Regions from separate parts of the Homo sapiens genome. Here all the other regions are linked to region 2. The links are contacts of gene promoters, found by promoter capture Hi-C in human tissues and cell types (Jung and others, 2019). All regions are on one chromosome and are shown on one strand. Each heading gives the region's core, a stretch centred on a gene start or on the middle of the fragment in contact. The rest is flanking DNA. Distances are from core to core; before and after follow the strand shown.

Region 1 (2,893 bases), core at 130-2,629, 140 kb before region 2:
ATCAGCTAATGATGAAAAAATACCACATATATTTTCATACTAAAGAATGCAACTATTGGAAGTGTCTTTTCCCTTAGTCACTTAAGGAATTAAATATACTTAGGATAATAGGCAACTTTTAAAAAGAAAATGTTTATCAGTTTTGTAGGGGGAGGTCCAAGTTCACGACACATCACACTACATTTTATAGAAGTATAGGGTTTTATTAAACTTCCTGTTTCTGCTGGCTGCTTGCTTGCATAGCTGTGGAGGGCCATGTGATTGTAGCAAATGCTGGATGTAAATTTATATCTTTGGCATAAAATGAAAGATAAAATTATTGGAAATCTGAAAATGTTTTTGCTTGTATAAAAACTTGATCTTAAAAGTTACACTACACCACCTTAGAAAGGGAGAGGGACAGAATTAATGTCAATAGTCTAAATATTGGTTTGGGCTTCTAGCAAATTTTTCATGGGAGGCCATGGGGGTGTGATTAATGCTTCCCAAGAACACTTAGATATTCTCCATCAAGTAATCTGTGCTGGAAAGGATTGAATGCTAGGTCCCCAGATGATTAAAGCATATTGGCCCAAGGTAACATTAAAGCTAGAACTCAATAATTCTAGTTAAACTAGTAAAAATGAGAGATTTAAATTTATACCCAGATTTTGAAGAAAAAATAACTAATCAACAAATGCACACACGGAAAGTTTCCAACTACACATTTCCTACTAAATGAAAAATCCCATACCCAGATATTCATAGCTTCTAATTATTTTGTACTCAAACTTCCCAGGTATTTTTTCATTAGATACCCTTATTCTCTCACAAAAAGGTTGTAATAAGGTTGTTGCCACAGCTGCACCAATTCTCTCTTACCCTTCTCTGATTTTTGAGGGCAACTGGAAACCAATGTGGTTTGTTTTTGTACATAGTAACTTGGCCCAGGTCACAGGAATACCACAAAAGAGTCTGATAACAACACATTTGCACTCAGACTGCACATGTACAGATAAATACACATCCCAAAACTATTTTTTCACCCTCACCCACAGAGACAATATATCACTGCCGTTAGAGTCATCAACTGCTTCAGAACATGAAATGCCACTTTAAGACAGTGCCATGGAGCCATTCCAGGCATTCATTAAAGCTTTTTATTTTTTAAATTTTATTTTCTTTTAGATTCAAGGAGTACACACACGTTTGTTACATGGGTATATTGCATACTGGTGGGGATTGGGCTTGTAGTGCACCCATCACCCAAATAGTGAACATTGTACCCAATAGGTAGTTTTTCAATCCTTGGCCACCTCCCATCCTCCTCTCTTTCAGAGTCCCCAGTGTCTATTATTTCCATCATTATGTCCATGTGTACTCACTGTTTAGTTCACAATTACAAGTGAAAATATGCAGTATTTGGTTTTCTGTTTCTGTGTTCACTTAGGATAACGGCCTCTAGCTCCATTCTTGTTGCTGCAAAGGATATGATTTCATTATTTTTTATTGCTGAGTAGTATTTCATGGTGTATTAGGTACCACATTTTCTTTATCCAGTCAACCATTGATGGATACTTAAGTTGATTCCATAACTTTGCTCTTGTGGACAGTGCTGTGATGAACATGAGTGCAGGTGTCTGTTTTACATGTGATTCATTTTCCTTTGGGTAGATACCCAACCGTGGGATTGCTAGGTGCAATGATAGTTCTATTTTTAGTTCGTTGAGAAATCACTGTTTTCCATAGAGATTTAACTAATTTATATTCCCACTAACAGTGTATAAGTGTTCTTTTTTCTCTGCATCCAGGCCAACATCTGTTGCTTTTTGACTTTTTAATAATAGCCTTTCTGACTGGTGGAAGATGATATCTCATTGTGGTTTTAATTTGCATTTCTCTGATGATTAGTGATGTTGAGCATTTTTTCATGTGTTTGTTGGCTGCTTGTATTTCCTCTTTCAAGAAATGTCTGTTCATGTCCTTTGCCCAGTTTTTAACGGGGGTTGTTTGTGTTTTTTCTTGTGGAGTTGAGTTCCTTGTGTTATTAGTTCTTTGTCAGATGTATAGTTTGAATATATTTTTTCCAATTCTGTAGGTTGTTTAGTCTGTTGATTATTTCCTTTGCTGTGCAGTAACTTTTTTGTTTAACTAGGTCCCATTTGTCTATTTTTTTTTTGTTGCTATTGCTTTGGGGTCTTCATCATACATTTTTTTGTCTAGTCCAGTGTCCACAAGTTTTTACTAGATTTTCTTCTAGAATTTTTACAGTTTCCAGTCTTACATTTAAGTCTTTAATCCTTCTTAAGTTAATTTTTTGTATGTGGTGAGAGAGATAAGACTCTAGTTTCATTCTTCTACATATGGCTATCCAATTTTCCCAGCACTATTTATTGAATAGGGTGTCCTTTCTCCAGCGTTCACTAAAGCATTTTAAAATCATTGTTCCTTGAGAATTATCTATTTTACAATTGTGATTTCCTTATTCTTTTCAGGCCACTCTTAATCAGTCTAAATCTAACTAATATCCCTAGAAACCGTATTAAAAATGGTTGGCTTATTTTCAGTGTATATAAATACAATTATACAATTATTTTAATAATTTTATTGTGTACTTGTTTCAGACTCATTGCTCCAGCTGGAGAGTTGATTATGACACAATGCCTGCCTTGAAGAGGTAAGAATTTAGTTGGAGGCAAAGGTTAGAATAAGGAAGCTATACGGTAATTACTTAAGGATTATATGGCAAAGCATTTCCTAAGCAAATGGCTTTCAAATTCATGGCAGTTGTTGAATCTTTTCTTAATAGAAATCTTATAAGTAAATCCAAGTTATTAGACGCATAAAAGAAAAATTCTTCTGATTGAAATAAGAACACAATTCCATGAGTCTCTCCTGCTGGGTTCCTTGTCTT
Region 2 (3,029 bases), core at 513-3,012:
CAGCGTGGCACGGGCAGAGAATGGTGTTAGGGAGGTAAAATGCTTGCGGGGGCAGCCCCTTTTAGGCAGCCCCCGGCTCAAAATTTAAGAAAGGACCATTCGGTTCATGTGGGGAACTGGGCTGCTGCCAGGAGGGCCCTGTGATGCCACCGGAGATTGACTTCAGGTTGAGAGGTTGTCGCCTGAGCCAGGTGGGGCTTGGAACTCTCTCTGTGGCCTCGTACAAGTCCAGAGCTGCCTACTTTCAGGAGCCAAAAACTTGGCCAGCCAAGGGCAGGCATCTGGCTGGCTGGCACCAGTCCAGGAGATCAGGACTGGGACACTGCACATTCATATTCTCTCTCTCTCTCTCTCTCTCTCTCTCTCACACACACACACACACACACACACACACACACACAGAGACATATCTGAAGAAGACTCTTCAGATATGTTTCAATTGTCAGGAGTTTGCGAGGTGCTCAAGTGCTTGACCTTTAAGAACCGGTTCTCAGAGACCCCCATTTCCTAAAGACCTTCTCATCTCACATTGGTTTGGGTTCCTCCCAGGAAACCGCCTCCTCTCTGGGCCTCCTGCTTCAGTTTGGGGGAAGCAGAACATTGCCCAGGAAGTAGGGAAGGGTGAGGAAGGGTGTGAGGCCCACTTTTCCCATGGGAGGATCCCATCAGCTTGATGCATATCTATACACTCCTCCCTGAGGCAGTTCCTCCAGAGGTTAGCAGCCCGCCCTGTTCCTGGAGAAGTCTTATCCTCACCTAACTACAAAAAGATTTAATAAAGAAACACACCCTTTCCTATTGTTACTTGGGGTTTGAAGGCATTACATCTTTTTTTCTTTTTTGCTACCTTGAGGTCAGCTGGCAACAGCCTCCTCTCAAGTCTCAGTCCAGGCGAGCGATGAGAGCCACATTCTAATGGAATCCAATGAGAGCATTACTTGAGCTGATTATGCAACGTCTCTTTGTAAACATTGAAAAAAGTTTGGAGAAGAGATGGGATGAGTTTAGTTGTTTGGTTCCAGGGGATTTTAGAGACATAGCTTGCAGCTACAGATTGGTAAATGTGAAATCTGGATGCTTATTGGTAATAAGAGAATTCCCAAGCCCAGGTGCACTGTTTAAAGTGCTATAGATTCATATTTGGTTTATAATGTATATCTGTTTGCTGTTTGGGTTAAGGAGGAAAGAAGAAAGAAGGATGAAGAGGCTAAGCATAAATGCTATTTACTTTTTTCTAAGCTATGACAGGAGATATACATTAACTGGGTATTCAACTGAATTTAAGAGTAATGCATTTAAAATTTTTTCAACCTCTTTTAAAATTTGATATACTGTAATAAACTGCCACTGGGGATGGGAAGATGGAAGCCTGGTGCTCATGGGCTAGGCATTTGTGTAGGTGTAGATCTTATAATGCTAAACATGGAAATACTTCAGATTAGAGGCAGGCCTTCCCATTTGCTAAGGTGCATTTACATGACAGCAAGGCCTAAGCAAACATTTAGCTTCTATTGGCACTTGTTCTATTTCTAAACCTTAGAAAAAAGGTGTGTGTGTGGGCTGGGGGGACGGGGGGGGGAGGGAGGTGGTAGGGGGTGCTCTTGCTGTGTCTCATTTGCAGTCATGCATCCTCTGCATTATTATGATGGAGATTACTCAGTTATGTTAGGAACTAGATTATGATGTCAGAAAATATCCTTTCCAAAACAGGCAAAAAGTCAGGGTCCTGGGTATATATTGAGGAGAATTTCTACGGAAAGTAATAAACAGGGCAGCTTGGAAGAGGTACCTGCTTTCTAATAATTGCCTTTAGTGGGAACAGAAGTCTCCTTTCAAGAAGCTTTTAATTCATTTTAAGATTTAATTTTATGTTTTCTGAAGAACAACAAAAAATATTTCTGGAAAAGACTGCTGAGAAGATTTCCCTCTTTCAGCCAGAAGAGCAGAGAGAAGATTGTAAATCAAGGAAAAGGTGAAGTAATAAATTAGGAGGGAACTTTGGTATTCCGAGTATATAAAGACTATTTATTTTTCCTGTGTCTATATTTTCTCTTTTTGTGGAGGAGAGGAAATTCTAAAAATATTTGATAGATGTTTTGCCATTAACACCAGAAAAGTGTGTGGGGAAAAAGAAAGGAGGGAAGGAGTGGGGGGTTAATTTTGTTTAATTAGTAGAAAAAGCAACATAAATCAAAGCAGTCTATTGATGCCAGTCCTTAATTTATAATGTTCTGAAAGTAAAGTGAATTTATTTACAACATAAGTGATTTGATAATTTCAATCTGATTTTTGTTTTAACCTTCTATTGGGAGAAGGGTTGACTTTTTAAAGCCTGGATAGTTTGAAACTTGGCTAGGTACCTTGGACTTTTTATTGTGGAAGCAAATATTATCATTTCAATGTTAAACAACTTGCAAGTATTAAATGGCTCATTTGTGATTGACTTTTTTTTTTTTTTTTTTTTTTTTTTTACAGATTTCCCCCTTCAGATCTAACGATTACATTAGGGCTCCTGCATCTTTTTGGAAGGATTCTTTTTATAAATCAGAAAGTGTTCGAGGTTCAAAGGTTGACATTTCTGAGTGCTGATACTTTGTCCTTTCATACTATCCAAACAAGTCTAACATTTAGAAATCCTTACACATTCAAGGGAAGTTGTGGAAATTCCCAGAGAGAGAGTGTGTGTGTGTGCGTGTGTGTGTTTTGGTTTTGTTTTGCTTTTTTTCTTTGTTAGTGAGAAGAAGCCGAGTCTTTTAAGGTACGGGGTTTACAGTAATGAACTGAGGAAGGCAGGAGCTTCTAAGAAAATATGCCCCCCCACCCAACCTAAGCAGTAAACTTTAACTGCTAGCTAGCTGCAGTGAACCAGTGGGAGCCCCGATGAGCGAGGGTCTCGGTGACAGCGTGCTATTTCTCCCACCCTGGGTAAAATATGTGGAGCATCACCCGGAAAGTCGGGCTTGATAAAGGCCACATTCCTTGAATCATCTCAAGAATCTAAATCACACTAGCCTTCTAGAAACTAATGA
Region 3 (2,831 bases), core at 256-2,755, 220 kb before region 2:
TGGACAAACATTTCAGAAGTACTGATAACATCTCATGCTAATTTGCTAATCTGCTTAGTAAATTTATTGTTAGCATTAAAATTAATATATTCAAAATAAACATAATATATACAAAATACCTAAAATAACATAATACTCATAGTATAGCCTACAAATAAAAGCACAGATTCAGGAAGACTTGTGAACAAACTCAAGCTCTACCACTTACTATTAATACAACCTTAGGTAAGTTTGCTCACTTGGAGACAGTTTCCTTTGTCTATGAAATGGAAAAAAATGTTACTACCAAAAAGTAGCAGTTGGAATTCAATAAAACAACATACATAAAGGGTTTTACATGAAGCTAGGCACAAAGATTTCTATAATTCTTATCAAAAGAAGAGCACAGGTGGTATATTACATTATACGTAATTCATCAGTAATTCTGTATAGATCAGTGGAAACAAAATAGTATAGGCAGAAAAGTTATTTAATGATTACAGACTCTAAACCGCTTAAAAAACGGTTTGAACTAGACCGATTTCTAAGGAACTCTGTTTCTGAAATTCAAAGATTCTACCTTAAGGTGATGCCCAAAAAGCCAATGATACTGACCCCAAATTTCTTACAATAAATAGCCTAAAGAACAAATTTCAAGAGCACCAAACAGAGGCAGTGGATATAAGAACCTGAAAAAAAAATGTATATACTTTGAGTGATAATCATATTTTTATAAATTACTTTGAAAAATTATCAGAGTTAAGCACAAATATTTAATGTTAATTTCAACAGGGAAAACTGAAATACAATTTTACTATTTAACAATAAGAAAATCATTAAATGATGGGCATATCCATATAACACAATAACCCATAACCATTACAAATCAAGTTTTCAAAATAATTCATGATGCAAGTACTCCCAATGTGATTCTGAGTGAAAAGGGCAAAATATAAAACAATATTAACAATTTTGTTTTTAAAATATATTTGCAAAAGAAAAGACTGAAAGAAAAGCCACCACAATGTTTGCAGCAGTTACCTCAGATTACTGAAAATAGGGTAACTTTTTTTATAGTCTTCCTTTATTTCCAACTTTCTACTGTAATCAACTATCATGTTCACAATCAAAAAAAGCAATATAACATTCACTTGTGATTAAATTTTAAAGCTCTAAGCAGGAGTTAAAGAGAACTTCCTTGGCTGGGTCAAAATGATATCCACAAAAAACTTACAGCTAACTACTCAATGGTAAAAGACTGTATACCTTCTCTACTAAGATGAAGAGCAATGCAAGGATATCTGTGCTGATCTGACTTGTTCTAGTTAACATTAGCAAAGGTCCTAGCCAGTGCAAAGAGACAAGAAAACAAAATAAAAGGCAAACAAATGAGAAAATGTGAAATAAAGCTGTCTCTACCAGCAGACAGCAGTAGCTACAAAAGCTACTAGAACGAACTCGTGAGTTTAACAAGGTTGTAAAATTCAAAAATTCAAGATCAATATTAAAATACTGATTCACTTACATAAGTAATTGGAAATTTAAAAATTTTTAAAGGTTACTGTTTACAACAGAACCAAACAACATAAAACATTTAGATACAAACATAACAAAATATGCGCAACATTTTTATGCGGAAAGCTTAAAAACAGAGAGAAATCAAAGACCAAATAAACGTAGAAAGGTTGTTTCATTTTGTTTTCTCTCTTGAAAGAGGCTCTCTCTGTTGCAGAGGCTAGAGTGCAGTGGCATGATCACAACTCACTGCAGCCTCTACCTCCCAGGCTCAATCAATCCTCCCACCTCAGCCTTCCAAGTATCAGGGACTACAGGTGCATGGCAACACACCCAGCTAATTTTTCTCATTTTTGTAGAGATGCGGTTTTGCCATGTTGTCCAAGCTGCTCTTGAACTCCTGGGCTCAAGCGATCCTCCCACCTTGACCTCCCAAAGTGCTGGGATTACAAGCATGAGCCATAGCAGTGGGACAGGAAAGGTATTTTATTAATGGATTAGAAAACAACATTTTTAAGATGTCAATTCTCCCCAAATGGATCCATAACTTCAATGCAATCATACTAAAAATTCCACAATGCTTTTATATAGAAATAAAGAGATTCTAAAATGTACATGGAAAGAAAAAGAACTCGAATACTCAAAAATTTTTGGCAAACAACAACAAAGTTGGAGGACTCAGGCTTTTTGACTTCAAGATACACTATAACGCTACCATAATAAGGACTGAGGTTTTAGCCAAACAGACGCACAGAACAATGGAACAAAATAGAGTCCACAAAGCAAACCACACAAACATACTCAACTGATTTTTAACAAGGCAAGCCAAAGAAATTTAATGAAGAAAAGATAGTAATGAGAGGTGAAGCCGGCTGGACTTCCGGGTCAGGTGGGGACTTGGAGAACTTTTCTATCTAGCTAAAGGATTGTAAATGCACCAATCAGAGTCTGTGTCTAGCTAACAGTTTGTAAACGCACCAATCAGCACTCTGTGTCTAGCTAATCGGGTAGGGGACTTGGAGAACTTTTCTGTGTAGCTAAAGGATTGTAAATGCACCAATCAGCGCTCTGTGTCTAGCTAAAGGTTTGTAAATGCACCAATCAACACTCTGGCAAAACGGACCAATCAGCACTCTGTAAAACGGACCAATCAGCACTCTGTAAAATGGACCAATCAGCTCTCTGTAAATGGACCAATCTGCAGGATGTGAGTGGGGCCAAATAAGGGAATAAAAGCAGGCCACCCGAGCCAGCAGCAGCAACCCCTTCGGGTCCCCTTCCATGCTGTGGAAGCTTTGTTCTTTCACTGTTCGCAATAAATCTTGCTGCTGCTCACT

Evidence for each region. Contacts are between HindIII fragments. The study calls those that stand out against the background at their distance.
Region 1: a fragment that was not itself captured here is called in contact with the fragment with the promoter of PTHLH in region 2 in 2 of the 25 tissues and cell types used here (IMR-90 fibroblasts and adrenal gland).
Region 3: a fragment that was not itself captured here is called in contact with the fragment with the promoter of PTHLH in region 2 in 1 of the 25 tissues and cell types used here (bladder).

The regions. Positions count from the first base shown.
Region 1 is chr12:28,106,869-28,109,761 of GRCh38, reverse strand. It overlaps LOC105369710 (a long non-coding RNA gene), which reads left to right. Exons shown (of 3, transcript XR_931461.3): 2 at 2,604-2,656. Among named protein-coding and RNA genes, the nearest start is that of CCDC91, 82 kb to the left of the region's middle. The HindIII fragment of the contact is 5,405 bases long and covers 1-2,893 here.
Region 2 is chr12:27,971,466-27,974,494 of GRCh38, reverse strand. It overlaps PTHLH (parathyroid hormone like hormone), which reads left to right and starts at 1,762. Exons shown (of 6, transcript NM_198965.2): 1 at 1,762-1,972; 2 at 2,476-2,568. The HindIII fragment of the contact is 6,422 bases long and covers 1-3,029 here.
Region 3 is chr12:28,194,960-28,197,790 of GRCh38, reverse strand. All of the region lies in intron 1 of CCDC91 (coiled-coil domain containing 91), which reads right to left. Among named protein-coding and RNA genes, the nearest start is that of CCDC91, 5.9 kb to the right of the region's middle. The HindIII fragment of the contact is 6,310 bases long and covers 1-2,831 here.